5 separate regions of the Homo sapiens genome follow, and all the other regions are linked to region 1. Evidence: promoter capture Hi-C in 16 types of primary human blood cells and fetal thymus (Javierre and others, 2016). All regions are on one chromosome and are shown on one strand. The core of a region is centred on a gene start or on the middle of the fragment in contact, and the rest is flanking DNA. Distances in the headings are between cores, read along the strand shown.

The links. The method cuts DNA at HindIII sites, captures the fragments that hold promoters and counts their contacts. A CHiCAGO score of 5 or more calls a contact.
Region 2: a fragment that was not itself captured here is called in contact with the fragment with the promoter of ARHGAP27 in region 1 in 1 of 17 cell types (neutrophils); the score reaches 5.8 in neutrophils.
Region 3: a contact is called between the fragment with the promoter of FMNL1 here and the fragment with the promoter of ARHGAP27 in region 1, in 11 of 17 cell types (monocytes, endothelial precursors, neutrophils and 8 more). The highest score is 21.0, in monocytes.
Region 4: a contact is called between the fragment with the promoter of FMNL1-AS1 here and the fragment with the promoter of ARHGAP27 in region 1, in 3 of 17 cell types (neutrophils, monocytes and activated CD4 T cells). The highest score is 13.5, in neutrophils.
Region 5: a fragment that was not itself captured here is called in contact with the fragment with the promoter of ARHGAP27 in region 1 in 1 of 17 cell types (neutrophils); the score reaches 5.1 in neutrophils.

Annotation. Positions count from the first base shown.
Region 1 is chr17:45,431,530-45,434,314 of GRCh38, forward strand. ARHGAP27 (Rho GTPase activating protein 27) reads right to left here and starts at 1,341. Exons shown (of 20, transcript NM_001282290.2): 1 at 1,223-1,341; 2 at 687-820; 3 at 92-223. It also overlaps a transcript of PLEKHM1 not described here. The HindIII fragment of the contact is 25,899 bases long and covers 1-2,785 here.
Region 2 is chr17:45,199,285-45,202,069 of GRCh38, forward strand. The region is part of intron 2 of FMNL1-DT (FMNL1 divergent transcript); the gene reads right to left. Among named protein-coding and RNA genes, the nearest start is that of FMNL1-DT, 21 kb to the right of the region's middle. The HindIII fragment of the contact is 4,769 bases long and covers 1-2,785 here.
Region 3 is chr17:45,220,432-45,223,216 of GRCh38, forward strand. FMNL1 (formin like 1) reads left to right here and starts at 1,454. Exons shown (of 27, transcript NM_005892.4): 1 at 1,454-1,822. The coding sequence starts at 1,694. It overlaps FMNL1-DT (FMNL1 divergent transcript), which reads right to left and starts at 1,334. Exons shown (of 3, transcript NR_147507.1): 1 at 918-1,334; 2 at 1-23. RefSeq lists silencers at 1,029-1,478, 1,489-1,538, 1,819-1,928, 1,851-2,145 and enhancers at 1,992-2,492, 2,493-2,785. The HindIII fragment of the contact is 10,145 bases long and covers 1-2,785 here.
Region 4 is chr17:45,240,520-45,243,019 of GRCh38, forward strand. FMNL1-AS1 (FMNL1 antisense RNA 1) reads right to left here and starts at 1,251. Exons shown (of 3, transcript NR_186808.1): 1 at 592-1,251; 2 at 1-85. It overlaps FMNL1 (formin like 1), which reads left to right. Exons shown (of 27, transcript NM_005892.4): 12 at 1-106; 13 at 610-711; 14 at 863-1,115; 15 at 1,328-1,627; 16 at 1,822-1,946. RefSeq lists an enhancer at 643-1,361. The HindIII fragment of the contact is 17,531 bases long and covers 1-2,500 here.
Region 5 is chr17:45,303,240-45,306,024 of GRCh38, forward strand. The region is part of intron 1 of MAP3K14 (mitogen-activated protein kinase kinase kinase 14); the gene reads right to left. Among named protein-coding and RNA genes, the nearest start is that of MAP3K14, 12 kb to the right of the region's middle. The HindIII fragment of the contact is 3,452 bases long and covers 1-2,785 here.

The DNA of each region.
Region 1 (2,785 bases), core at 91-2,590:
GGGTCATCGAGCTGCCCGGTGCTGAACCAACAAACCCCAAGCAGGACACTCCCCCGGCGCCCCCTCCCCTTGGACCCCGCAGCGCACTCACGTCGGCTGGGCGGGCCTCAGGGAGCCCATGGGCTGGGTGGGCGGAGCCGGCGGTGGCTGCAGGTTAGGCCCCTACCATCGCCCTGGGCGGGGTTTCCAGGGGCGAGGCCGGAGAGGCTGCGCGGAACAGGAGCTGGCAAGCAGAGCGAAGAGGGACAGGGACGCTCAGGAGTGCTGTCACCGATACCCAAAGCAGCCGTGTCTGGGTGGGGCGAGGAGGAGCCTGAATGCCTCTGCTGGGGACCTTGGGGGGCATTGGGACGAGGCCCAGAGCAGAAGGCCGGCACCTGGAGCCGGGACTGCTGCGTCTGAAGGGGCACTGGCAGGTCGCGAGCGGAGCCCAAGGAGGATGGGACCGCCCCCGCTCCGCCTTCCCCCTCTATTCCCCGCCCCCCCACCCCCCACCCCCCGGGATTTGCTGTCCGGGAGTGCCTGCGTCCCTCCTGTGCGCGGCTCTGGGAATGCCGGGCTGGGGCTGGTTGTCTCGTGCGGGCGTTCCTGTTCCCGGGGAGGTCATTTGCACCCTGAATCACCCACTGCGAGCCCTTCCAACCGGATTGCAAATCCGCCCGCTCCGGGCCCACCTCTTCCCTCACCAGGGCCTTTCCCGGAGCAGCCCGGCCGGGCCTGGAAAAACTCCGAGCGGGATTCCCAGCGCAGGGACGCCCACCGGAGCTCGATGTCTCGGGCTGGATAAGAAGGGGACCGGACCTCGGTTCCTTCCCCGACCCTGGGGAAACGCAGAGAAGGGGAGGGATTGGGGAAGCCGGGAGGATCCCTGGAGCGCGACAGCGCACCAGTCGCCAGGAGGTCCCCTGCGTCCACTGCCCAGGCGACTCAAGCTACAGGGGCGTCAACGCCTGGGTCGGCGCTGGGGGCCTGGGCCTGCTTCCCTCCAGCCCCCAGATGGAGGGCAGCCCTTCGCCTACCTTCTCCTCCCCGTGGGATGCGGCCCGCGCAGCTCCCGCCCCAGCGCGGAGACAAGGGGAGCAGGCGCGCGGAGCTCCCGGGTGCGGACCCGCCACCTGCCGCACCCTTCCCTTCCCAACCCTGCCCTTTCCCCACCCCCACCCCACTTCCCACCCCCAACCCCCGCTCGGCGCCCCACTCCCGACCCTGCCTGCCCGGGCACCTCGGGGCGTCCGCTCGCCGGCTTCGCCTCCACTTGCCCCGGCAGGCGCGCGTGGGCTCGGCGTCCCGCGCTCCCTCCTCGACTGTGCGGCTCCCGCGCTGCCGGGTTTCCTGTTCAACAATATAACCAGGGAGGCACCGGCGGAGAGCGCCGGGCAGAACTTCCTCCCGGACTGGGGCTGGGCTGCGGTTGCGAGAGACAATCCCCGGTGTCCTGGCTTCCTGTCCCCTCTGGGCCGGGCCAGCGCCTGAGGAGCGAAGACGCCACCCCCTCCCCTGCCTTTCCCGGGATCCTGGGCCGCACCTGGCTGTCTCCAGGGAGAAAGAGGCTGCGGGGCTGAGATGGTGGGACTGGGGAGGGCGGGAGCCTCCCCCGCAGGTTCGCCTGGCCAGATTGCCCTCCCACCATCCCCCACCCCCTCTTGATCCTTGTGGGGAAGGAGGGCCACCCTCCAATCCGTCCACAGGGTAAGCTCAGAACAACCTCCAGGAGTCCAGCCCCAGGGCCCTCCGCCTTGGGGGTCTTCTGTTGGAGAATTTTCTGCCTCTCTGGACAAGCAGCCTCGCCCTGATCTGAGCCTGCACTCACTCCAGACATTACAAGCCACAGCCCCAGCACACCCCCTGCCCTCAGGGGCCCCAAGGAACAGTTGTGCCTGTGGACCTGGCTGTGTGTGCCAAGAGCTGGCTGATTCAGGCCAGTGTTCTGGGAGGAAGAAGGGCCCGCATCCCAGGCCATGGCCTCTCTTGACACCACCTCCTGGGGACCCAGGGTTGGGTGGGAAGCTGAATCTGGCCACCCAGATTCAGAGGAACTCCCTTACCTCTATATCTTTGTAAGATATAGTAAGTAAGGAACTCCCTTACCTCTATATCTTTGTAAGATATAGTAAGTAAGGAACTCCCTTACCTCTATATCTTTGCCTCTGCTAGGCATTGCCCACCTGTGAGTCCACACTTCCTCTGAGAATCTGTGTGTCTGAGCCTTGGTGGCACCTTGGGACCCTCCAGGGTGGGCACACAGCAGAACTCAGCACTGGTCTTTGGTGCCCGACATGCTTAGAAAATAGTGGCTGGTGCCGGGCACGGTGGCTCACGCCTATAATCCCAGCACTTTGGGAGGCCGAGGCGGGCGGATCATGAGGTCAGGAGATTGAGAAACCCTGGCTAACACGGTGAAACCCCGGCTAACACGGTGAAACCCCGTCTCTACTAAAAATATAAAACATTAGCCGGGCGTGGTGGCGGGAGCCTGTAGTCCCAGCTACTCCGGAGGCTGAGGCAGGAGAATGGTGTGAACCTGGGAGGCGGAGACTGCCGTGAGCCATGATCGTGCCACTGCACTTCAGCCTGGGCGACAGAGCAAGACTCCGTCTCAAAAAACAACAACCAAAAAAGAAAAAAAGAAAATCGTGGCTGGAGGAATCTTCTCTCCCTCCCTACCTTTTAGGTCCCTCTCCACCTGCAGCACAGCCAGGCAGTGGCTGGCAGTGGTGATGGTCTTTGCGTGGGGTCAGGCAGGTATGATGCCCCACTCTGCTGCTTGGCGGCTGGTAGGCCTTGG
Region 2 (2,785 bases), core at 144-2,643, 230 kb before region 1:
ACTGTGGGAGGCCGAGGCAGGCAGATCACGAGGTCAGAAGATCGAGACCATCCTGGCTAACACAGTGAAACCCCGTCTCCACTAAAAATACAAAAAATTAGGCAGGCGCCTGTAGTCCTAGCTACTCGGAAGGCTGAGGCAGGAGAATAGCATGAACCCGGGAGGTGGAGCTTGCAGTGAGCTGAGATCACGCAACTGAACTCCAGCCTGGGTGACAGAGCGTGATTCCGTCTCAAAAAAAAAAAAAAAGAAAAAGAAAAAAAAGAAATGAGGTCTCACTATGTTGCCCAGGCTGATCTACCCACCTCGGCCTCCCAAAGTGCTGGGATTACAGGCGTGAACCACTGTGTCCGGCCATTTTTCTTCTTCTTCTTCTTTTTTTTTTTTTTGAGACGGACTCTTGCTCTGTCGCCAGGCTGGAGTGCAGTGGCGCGATCTTGGCTCACTGCAACCTCCGCCTCTTGGGTTCAAGCAATTCTCCTGCCTCAACCTCTGGAGTAGCTGGGATTACAGGCACTTGCCACCATGCCCAGCTAATTTTTGTATTTTTAGTAGAGATGGGGTTTCATCGTGTTGGCCATGATGGTCTCGATCTCCTGACCTCGTGATCTGCCCACCTCGGCCTCCCAAAATACTGAGATTACAGGCATGAGCCACCACGCCCAGCCATTTTTCTATTTTTTGTAGAGACAGGGGTCTCCCTATGTTGCTCAGGCTGGTCTTGAACTCCTGGGCTCAAGCAATCCTCCTGCCTCAGCCCCCAAAGTGCTTGCTGGGATTTCAGGCATGAGCCACCACACCCAGATATTTAGGCTTCTTTATTTTTTATTTATTTTTATTTTTTGAGACTGAGTTTTGCTCTTATTGCCCAGGCTGGAGTGCAGTGGTGCGATATCGGCTCAACTGGGTTCAAGTGATTCTCCTGCCTCAGCCACCTGAGTAGCTGGGATTACAGGTGCACGCCACCACACCCAGCTAATTTTTGTACTTTTAGTAGAGATGGGGTTTTGGCATATTGGCCAGGCTGGTCTCGAATTTCTGGCTTCAGGCCATCTGCCCATCTCAGCCTCCCAAAGTGTTGGGATTACAGGTGTGAGCCACCATGCTGGCCTAGGCTTCTTTAATCTGGGGCAATTCCTCATCTTTTTCATCTTTCATGACATTTTTTCAGAGTAGGACTCCCCCACACATTTTTCCTTTTAATCGAATGCACCTTATTTGAGGTTTGTCTGGTATTTCCTTATGGATAGATTCAGGCTATGTCTCCCTGGTGCAAATATAAGCAATATTATATTGTTTGGGTGGAGTTCTCTCCACTTTAAGGGATTCATGGAACTTCTGAACCTCTGAGGTTGATTAACCCCTGAGTTGTCTGTCAAAAAAATCAGATTTTCAAAACAAGTTAAGAAGGACATCATGAATTATGCGTGTGTCTTCACTCTGCTGATGGCTGGCTTAGGCTCTGCATTCTCTCTCTCCCTCTTCCCCTCCCGCTACCGAACTTGCCCTTGAAATTTCAGCAGCTGCTGTTGAAAGCATTCTTTTTGAAGGCCACTAGGGACCCCTAATTGCCCAACTCAGTCGCTTTCATAGTCTTCATCCTCTTGACCTCTTCTCAGGGCAACGGACTGGCTCACCCGCCCTTCTCCCTAAAACCACAGAAGGCCGCGCTTGGCTGTCCCAGTCTCTGCCCATTTCCTTCAACAAAAATGACAGAATGCCGGCTGCTCTGGGAGGTACAGAGGTGGATCCACTGTGGAGCCAGCTTTGCAGGTGGTGGCTTGTCAGGAAAATTCTGCAGGTCCTGGTCTTTTTTTCTTTTCTTTTCTTTCTTTTTTTTTTTTTTTTTTGAGACTGAGTCTCACTCTATTGCCCAGGCTGGAGTGCAGTGGCATGATCTCGGCTCACCGTGACCTCCGCCTCCCGGATTCAAGTGATCCTCTTGCCTGAGCCTCCCAGGTAGCTGGGATTACAGGCGCCCACCACCACGCCCAGCTTATTATTGTATTTTTAGTAGAGACAGAGTTTCACCATGTTGGCCAGGCTGGTCTCCAGAACTCCTGACCTCAGCTGATCTAGCCGCCTTGGCCTCCCAAAGTGCTGGGATTACAGGCATGAGCCACCACACCCGGCCTGGTCCTGGTATTTCTTGTATACTCCCCACACCCCAGTGAAGATGTTCTCTCAGCTTTTGTCCTCAGATGGGGTGCCTGGAATTGGTCTTTCCCCTGGAGGAGCCCCACCTTCTAGTGGTTTCAACTTTGCCTCTCCTTCAACAACCCAGGAGGGCAGCCCTGAGTCTCTGACCCTGACTCAGTGGATGTCCAGGCAGAATTATGTCAGGAATGGATCTGGGCTTAGTGTTTCTTCCTCAGCAGCCCCTAGGGCAAACAGACCTCCCCTCATACTCCTTTCCCAGGCCGTGAGCTCTTTTTAGGCAGGTTGGGGTCTAATTCTTCTCTATCCCTCGGCACTGGGCATGCAGTTGGCCCTCCATCAATATTTATGGAATAATGGCCAGGCGCAGTGGCTCATGCCTATAATCCCAGCACTTTGGGAGGCTGAGGCGGGAGGATTACTTGAGGTCAGGAGTTCAAGACCAGCCTGGTCAACATGGCAAAACCCAGTCTCTACTAAAAATACAAAAATTAGCTCGGTGTGGTGGCGCATGCCTGTAATTCCAGCTACTTGGGAGACTGAGGTAGGAGAATCATTTGAACCTGGGAGGCGGAGGTTGCAGTGAGCCGAGATTGGGTCATTGCATTCCAGCCTGGGTGACACAATG
Region 3 (2,785 bases), core at 204-2,703, 210 kb before region 1:
TGCTTAAAGTCTTGTCAGTGGCTCTGAATGTGAGGGCAGAAGGAGGAGGATGCTGTCAGGGGAGGGGACACTAATGGCTCCTGACCTGGCCTAGAGATAATTCGGGGCTCCTTCAGCGGGCCCTCCCTCCTCAGTGCCCTGGAAGTGTAGGGAGGGGTCAGTTGGGGATCCCCACAAATTAAATGGGGAATGAGAGGAGCAACTGAAAGTCTCAAATTCAGGCTATAGATGGGACCCCAGCCCCCCATACTCTCCCGTCCTACATGAGATGGGCAGTGGAGGGCCAGGACAGCAACTCCAAGCCAGTGTAGGTTTTGGAGGTAGACAGTGAGGAGGCTTGCTTCTGTCCTTTGTTAGCTGAGTGCCCTTGGACAGCTTACTTACCTACTCTCAGCCTCAGTTTCCCCATCTCTAAAATAAGGCTACCAATACCTACCTTCTCTGGCCATTGTCAGGATGAATGAAAGAGCTCTGAAAGTATTTCTGTAATTAGCAGACATCAGAGATTGTTATTCTCCAAGGTAAGAGGCCCCCCTAGATCCCTGGCGGTGACAGTGTCAAGATTCTTTTTCCCTCCTCTGCGGTGCCCACTCCTTTTCCAGCCTTGTGGCTGGCTCTCATCCTCCTTTCCGCAACCCCCCACTCCTCCTTGGGACCACCTTGGCGGGCCCAGCTTCTCGCAGCCTGCCATATTCCATAGGTGCCCCCATTCTAAAACCTGTAGGGGTGCCCTGCACAGGCGCACGGTTGGTCGAGGTGGGACAGGTGGCGGGGGTCTCCACTGGCCTGCGTCCGCGCCCCCCACCCTGTTTAGGAGTTCCTGTTTGGAGATGGCTCCCCCTCGTCCTCAGCTCGTCTCTGGGCTAAGCAGGGGAGGAGAGAAATAAAAGGTGGGGGGCCTGGAAGGGGGTTCCCACCTTCTCAGTCCGGGACGCGAGACGGGAACGCAGCCCTGGCGCCCCAACGCTGCACCACCGTGGGTCTCCGAGCCGTGCTCGCAGTCGCTGAGATCCTCGGTGCGGAGAAGATGTGCCCCTCCAATCCCCAGGCCGTGATCCCCTTCACCCAGACCCGGCCAATCCCTCGCCCGAGGCGAGCGGGAGGATGCGGTTCTAGGACCCGGAGGCGCCGCCGAGCGCGCCGCCGCCTCGGCCTCGCCTCGGTGGCCTCCCGCTCCGGCAGGTGAAGCGGCGCCGGCCGCCCCCTCTGCGGCAGGTGAAGCGGCTCGGCAGCCCACTCCCCGCCCGCCATGGTTGCGGGGGTCCCCCGGCCAGCGCCCGCCCCCTCCCTCCAGCCCGCCCCCCTGGGGCTGGGTGCCCGGCGGCGGCGGCGGCGAACTGCGGTTTGCGCGCACGGGGAGCGACAGCAGAAGTTCGAAAATCGCCGAGGGGGGAGCCAGCGCCGCAGCTTCCTGCCCCCGGCCCAGCCCTCTGGCCCCGGCGGCCTGCAGCCTGACTTCCTCCCCCAACCCTGCAGCTCGCCGCCCGGTCCCACGGACGGGGCCGCCCCGATGGGACGCCGCGCTCCGGCCCCTGCGCGCCGCTGAGCCGAGCGCCCCCCGCTGCCGAGACCCCCGCCGCCACCGCCAGCCGCTGCCCCCTCGCCCCCGCCCGGGCCGGGAGCCTCGTCCCCGTCCCCCGGAAAGCTGGATTTCCGAGGCTGGAGGCGCCTGGCCGGCTGGGTGGGGACCACCATGGGCAACGCGGCCGGCAGCGCCGAGCAGCCCGCGGGCCCCGCCGCGCCGCCCCCCAAGCAGCCCGCGCCTCCCAAGCAGCCGATGCCCGCGGCCGGAGAGCTGGAGGAGAGGTTCAACCGCGCCCTGGTGAGTGCGACCCGGAGGCGGGTCGGGCGCGGGCGGGGGGCGGCAGGGGCGCGGCAGGGGCTGGGCGCGCGTCCCCGCCCCCGGGGACTCAGGTGCCGCTTGGAGATCCCCGGTCCGGCAGCTGCCCCCTCCAGGAGGTGGGAGCGACAGTGGCCTTTTTTTCAGAGTGACTTAGCACTCTCCCCCCAAAACTTTCTTCAGTTATCGCCCGGTCTCCCTCCCTAAGACGCCTCCACCCCAGCTGGGTCTTAAGGTCTAAACAAGTATGTCCTGTGAAGAAGTTGGGAGCGGGGCACGCACAGGGGTCCCGGGTCGCCCCCTTCCCCACTGCACGCAGGCCCAGCCACCGGGCGCGGGTCTGGGGCATCTGCCTTTCTGTGTCTGGAGTCAAAGATGAAAGGGTTACAACCTCCCGGGAGCGGGAGACCTGCTGGAGGTGTTGGGTCCTGATTTGTTGGGCGCCTGGGCTGCGGGGAATGGGGTTGTCGGATCATGGCCAGGAGGTATCTGTGTTTCTACCCCGCCATATGTCAGAGCCAGGGTGCCTGTGGGTCTTTATCTTGGGGCATCCTTTCCAAGCCACTGAAGGGAGTAAGATGAGGGAGGGTGGGGTCAGGACGGGTGGGTCGCCCAGGCTAGGGGTGGAGCAAAATCTGGAACCACCCCCCTCTGTGCCTACCTGGGGAATTGGAGCGGGGTCGCTGGGGAATAGGTCTCTGGGAGGGAACCAGCAGCTCAGGCCGAGCCTGGAAACAGTCAACATGTTCAGTGGGGTGGGGGCTCCAGAGCAGACTCAGGGGTCTCCAAGACCCTGCATAAGGCAGAAGTAGGGAGAGGAAGAGCTGCTCACTCTCACTCTCCCCACCCCCGACGCCCTGGCCCTGGCTCCCTCCTCTAACTAATTGCCTGGTGGCCTGCCTGCTGTCAGCCTTCCCTTGCTGGACGCTGGGTGACAGGCAAAAT
Region 4 (2,500 bases), core at 1-2,500, 190 kb before region 1:
GGCGTACCTGGACAATATTTTTGATGTGGGGGCGCTGCTGGAGGACACAGAGACCAAGAACGCTGTGCTGGAGCACATGGAGGAACTGCAGGAGCAAGTGGCGCTGGTGAGAGTGGGTCCTGACCCCAGCCCAGCACATCATAGGCCCACAGGGCACACGGGCCACAGGGCCACGCAAGCATGGGCACTGGGCAGCAGACAGTGTTATAATTGTGCATTGGAGGTGCTGCCTGCCTGGCCCCAGAGCCTGGCCTGAATCCAAAGCCTGAATCTGTTGGGTGTCTTTCTCAATGAGTGTGGGTGAGCACCCTCACTGACAGGCCCCTCCTCTACCCAGGCTCAGACCCCAGGTGAACTGAAATGGGTGCCTGGGGCCCCTCCCAGCTCAGTCTCCTCCTCTCCCTCCACCTCCCGCATCACTGGTACCTTGGTTTCCTCTCCTTATTTGCTTGGGTTCGAGTGCCAGGCTCGGCCCACCCTTGGCACCTGGGCTGAGCGGATCTGGGAGCCTCCCCCAGTCTTCCAGGCAGGCATGCCTGATGCCGCCCCCTCACCGGCGGTGCCAGTGCCGGGCTGCGGGTCGGGGCTCACCATGTGCTGGTGCTACAGCTGACAGAGCGGCTTCGGGACGCGGAGAACGAATCCATGGCCAAGATTGCAGAACTGGAAAAACAGCTAAGCCAGGCGCGCAAGGAGTTGGAGACCCTGCGGGTGAGGCTGGGGCGGGTGGTAGGCCAGGCGCCCAAGAACAGGCCAGCTGAGGCTTCTAGGCTTGACATCTCCCTCCACCCCGGGAAGAAGATGGAGGCTTGGTGCCAAGGAGCCTGCTGGTGGGCACTGACCCCTCCCGTGGGGTTCGTAGGAGCGCTTCAGCGAATCGACCGCCATGGGGCCCTCCAGGCGTCCCCCAGAGCCTGAGAAAGCGCCTCCCGCTGCCCCGACGCGGCCCTCGGCCCTGGAGCTGAAGGTGGAGGAGCTGGAGGAGAAGGGGTTAATCCGTATTCTGCGGGGGCCGGGGGATGCTGTCTCCATCGAGATCCTCCCCGTCGCTGTGGCAACTCCGAGCGGCGGTGATGCTCCGACTCCGGGGGTGCCGACCGGCTCCCCCAGCCCAGGTGCGCAGGAGCTTCAGGCTGGCGGGGATGCGGGGCAGGGTCTGGAGGGGAGCCCAGGGGCATCTGTGGCGGGCAGAGTTGGGCGAGGGAGGTTTGGATTGTAGGCTCGGCTCAGGTAGGAGCGCATGCGTAGAGCGGAGAGGCGGAGAGGGGCCCACCCAAGTCAAGGAGCTGACTCGCGCCTCCCCCACGCCGCGCCCTCGCTGGCTCAGATCTCGCACCTGCAGCAGAGCCGGCTCCCGGAGCAGCGCCACCGCCGCCGCCCCCACTGCCCGGCCTCCCCTCCCCGCAGGAAGCCCCGCCCTCTGCGCCCCCACAGGCCCCGCCTCTCCCTGGCAGCCCGGAGCCCCCGCCTGCGCCGCCGCTGCCCGGAGACCTGCCGCCCCCACCCCCGCCACCGCCACCACCTCCGGGCACTGACGGGCCGGTGCCTCCGCCGCCGCCGCCGCCGCCGCCGCCTCCCGGAGGTCCTCCTGATGCCCTAGGAAGACGCGACTCAGAATTGGGCCCAGGTGAGTGGAGTGGACCACCTTGGGCCCGGGGCTGGGGGGAGATGGAGGGAGGGGCCTGGGCCTCAGTGTCCTCCAGGGTCCTCTGCCTGGGGGCCTCCTGCTGCCTCCTGGCTGCCCCATCAGCCCTCCCTGGGCCCAGGTTCCCTCCAGTAGTACCCCCAGTGCTCACCACTGCCCCCAAACCCCCGTCCCAGGAGTGAAGGCCAAGAAGCCCATCCAGACTAAGTTCCGAATGCCACTCTTGAACTGGGTGGCACTGAAACCCAGCCAGATCACCGGCACTGTCTTCACAGAGCTCAATGATGAGAAGGTGCTGCAGGTGAGTGGCCCTGCCTGGCTCCCCATGTGGGCACCGGAGGAAGAGGGGAGTTGCCTGGATCAGGCTGGGCCCTGGGGGTAGTCATTTTCTCCAAGCCATTTCACAGATGAGGAGGGGGAGGCCCAGGGATGGGCATTAAGCCAGACTGGACCAATACCTCTAACAGGCAGAATCCTGCTTTCCCAAACGCCTTCCCCTCCATCCCTGCAGAGGGGTGCCTCCCCTCACCCCACTTCTTCTGCCTCCAGGCCTCTTTCCTTCCACTTTCCCACAGGCAGCCAAGGCTTCAGCCCTCCTGATTCCACTTCCAGTTTTCCAAAAGGATGTATTCTCTTGCCTCTAGGCCATTGTTCCATTCTGTTTCCTCTGCCTGGAATGTCTTTTCCTTTCTCCTTTTTACCGCTGGCCAGTTCAGCTCTTCCTTTAGCTCTTGTGGCCCCAAGTCTGGATCCCCCGGGTTAGGCGGCCCTCCTCCTCCAGGCTCCCTGTGCTTCCCCTGTGCCTCCCATCAGGGCCTGTGGTCAGGCTGGGTTACTGGTTCTCTGCTGGTGGCC
Region 5 (2,785 bases), core at 113-2,612, 130 kb before region 1:
TATATGTGATCTTTAACCTTGCTTAAAAATTTTTTTTCAGGCCAGGTGCAGTGGCTCATGACTGTAATCCCATCACCTTGGGAGGCCGAGGTGGGTGGATCACTTGAGGTCAGGAGTTCAAGACCAGCCTGGCCAACATGGGGAAATCTCGTCTCTACTAAAAATACAAAAATTAGCTGGGTGTGGTGGTGGGCACCTGTAATCCCAGCTACTTTGGAGGCTAACGCAGGAGAATCACTTGAGCCCAGGAGGTAGAGGTTGTAATGAGCCGAGATTGCACCACTGCACCCCAGCTTGGGCAACAGAGTGAGACTCCATCTCAAAAATTTTTTTCCAATACCAAAATAATTGTTCATTGTAAAAATGTAAACAAAACAAAATTGTATATAGAAAAAAAATCCCGGCACCGTCCCGTCCTCTCTGCAACATAAAAAACACTTAAGTTTCATGTAAATCCTTCTAGTTCCAATTACTATACATATATAAACATATAGTTTGGGACTTTTTTTTTTTTTTGTATTTTTAGTAGAGACGGGGTTTCACCGTGTTAGCTAGGATGGTCTTGATCTCCTGACCTCGTGATCCAGCCGCCTCGGCCTCCCAAAGTGCTGGGATTACAGGCGTGAGCCACCGTGCCTGGCCTAGTTTGGGACTATTTTTAAAAGAAACATGGATTATACACATGTAATGTCATACAAATTGTATCTTTCACTTAAGATACTATGAATACTATTCCATCTCAGCACATTTAGATTTATTTCTTTTCTTTTCTTTTTTTTTTTTTTTTTTTTGAGACGGAGTCTCGCTCTGTCGCCCAGGCTGGAGCGCAGCAGCCCATTCTTGGCTCACTGCAACCTCCGTCTCCCGAGTTCAAGTGATCCTCCTGCCTCAACCTTCCGAGTTACAGGCGTCAGCCACCACATCCGGCTAATTTTTGTATTTTTAGTAGAGACGGGGTTTCACCATGTTGGTCAGGCTGGTCTTGAACTCCTGACCTCAAACAATCCACCCGCCTTGGCCTCCCAAAGTACTGGGATTACAGGTGTGAGCCACCATGGTTGACCTCTAATTCATTCTTTTTAAGGCTTCATAAGATTGGAAGGTACAGATGTATCATCATTTTCCCACCTGGAAACTTTGTTTCCAATTTTTCACTTATACGTAATAATGGAAAAAACTCTACCCTTATTCACATTTATGTGTACATGTAGAAGGAATTCTAGGTGGTAAGCTCTTGGGATTGGAATTTCTGGGTGACTCTTTTGTTAATGGGTTATATCTTTTCTCCTGTTTCTATGTGTCAGAGAAGTAGATAGCATCAGATAGGTGGTTTCCAAACATTGTATTATTTATTTGCTGTGAAGATGCTATCCTTGCTTTCAACATGCCTATAGTCTAGATGGGGAAAAAATGGGTAGATGGATAAATAAATCATAAAGGAATAATCAAAGTGCTCTTAGGATCAGAAAGACCCTCAGAGGTAATTTCTTCCAACATATTACTTACTAATCCTGAGGAATGGCCATTCAGCTACATGACAGGATGGCCTTGGAGTCAGAAGATCTGAGTTTGAATCTTAGTTTCTCAATACTCTGGTGTGTGACCATGGGCAGGTCACATAATCTGAGACTCAGGAGTCTTATCTGTAATATAGGGATCCTCAAACCTACATGATAGAATTTTACACGGTGACTCAATGCAAGGAACAAAGTTTAAATTACATAGCACAGTGCCTGGCATGCAGTGGGCACTCTGGAAACATCAGTGGAACCTCCAGTGAGATGGAAGCCGCTACAAGATGAGCAGTCAGACCTTTGTATGACTGGAAGTGTAAGATTTTTTTTGGTTTTATGTTTTTTTATTTTTTTTATTTTTTGAGACGGAGTCTTGCTCTGTCGCCCAGGCTGGAGTGCAGTGACGCAATCTCGGCTCACTGCAAGCTCTGCCTGCCGGGTTTACACCATTCTCCAGCCTCAGCCTCCTGAGTAGCGGGACTACAGGCACCCGCCACCACGCTCAGCTAATTTTTTGTATTTTTAGTAGAGACAGGATTTCACCATGTTAGCCAGGATGGTCTCGATCTCCTGACCTCGTGATCCACCTGCCTCGGCCTCCCAAAGTGCTGGGATTACAGGCGTGAGCCACAGCGCCCGGCCGTTTTTTTTTTTTTTTTTGTGAGACAGAGTCTTGCTGTCACCCAGGCTGGAGTGCAGTGGTGTGATCTTGGCTCACTGCAACCTCCACCTCCCGAATTCAAGCGATTCTTATGCCTCAGCCACCCAAGTGGCTGGGATTACAGGCATGTACCACCACGCATGGCTAATTTCATTTATTTATTTTTTTGTAGAAATGGGATTGTGCCATCTTGGCCAGGCTGATCTCAAACTCCTGGCCTCAAGTGATCTGCCCACCTCAGCCTCCCAAAGTGCTAGGATTACAGATGTGAGTCATGGTCTATAAGTGTTAAGTTGCTTCAAAGTTGCTGCTATAAGGCACTGAAGCCTACCTCCCACAGCTTCTAGCCAGCAGCCCTAGCATCAGACAGAAAGTCTGGAACAGATGTGGTCAAAGCAGGAGGAGGACAATCCTGAAAGCAGAGGGACAGAGTGGTCGGCAAGAACCCATGAAGATGTTCTTTGAAGAGCATTCTGCACACCCCATCTGGCTTCTGTGTCCACTGGCAGTGCCTCAGCTCTGCGTGATGAACTGGGACCCACAATTCCTTGGCAGCTAAAGCTGAAATTAGTTGTCCTGTGGTCATCTTTGAGTGTTACAACAATCTGCT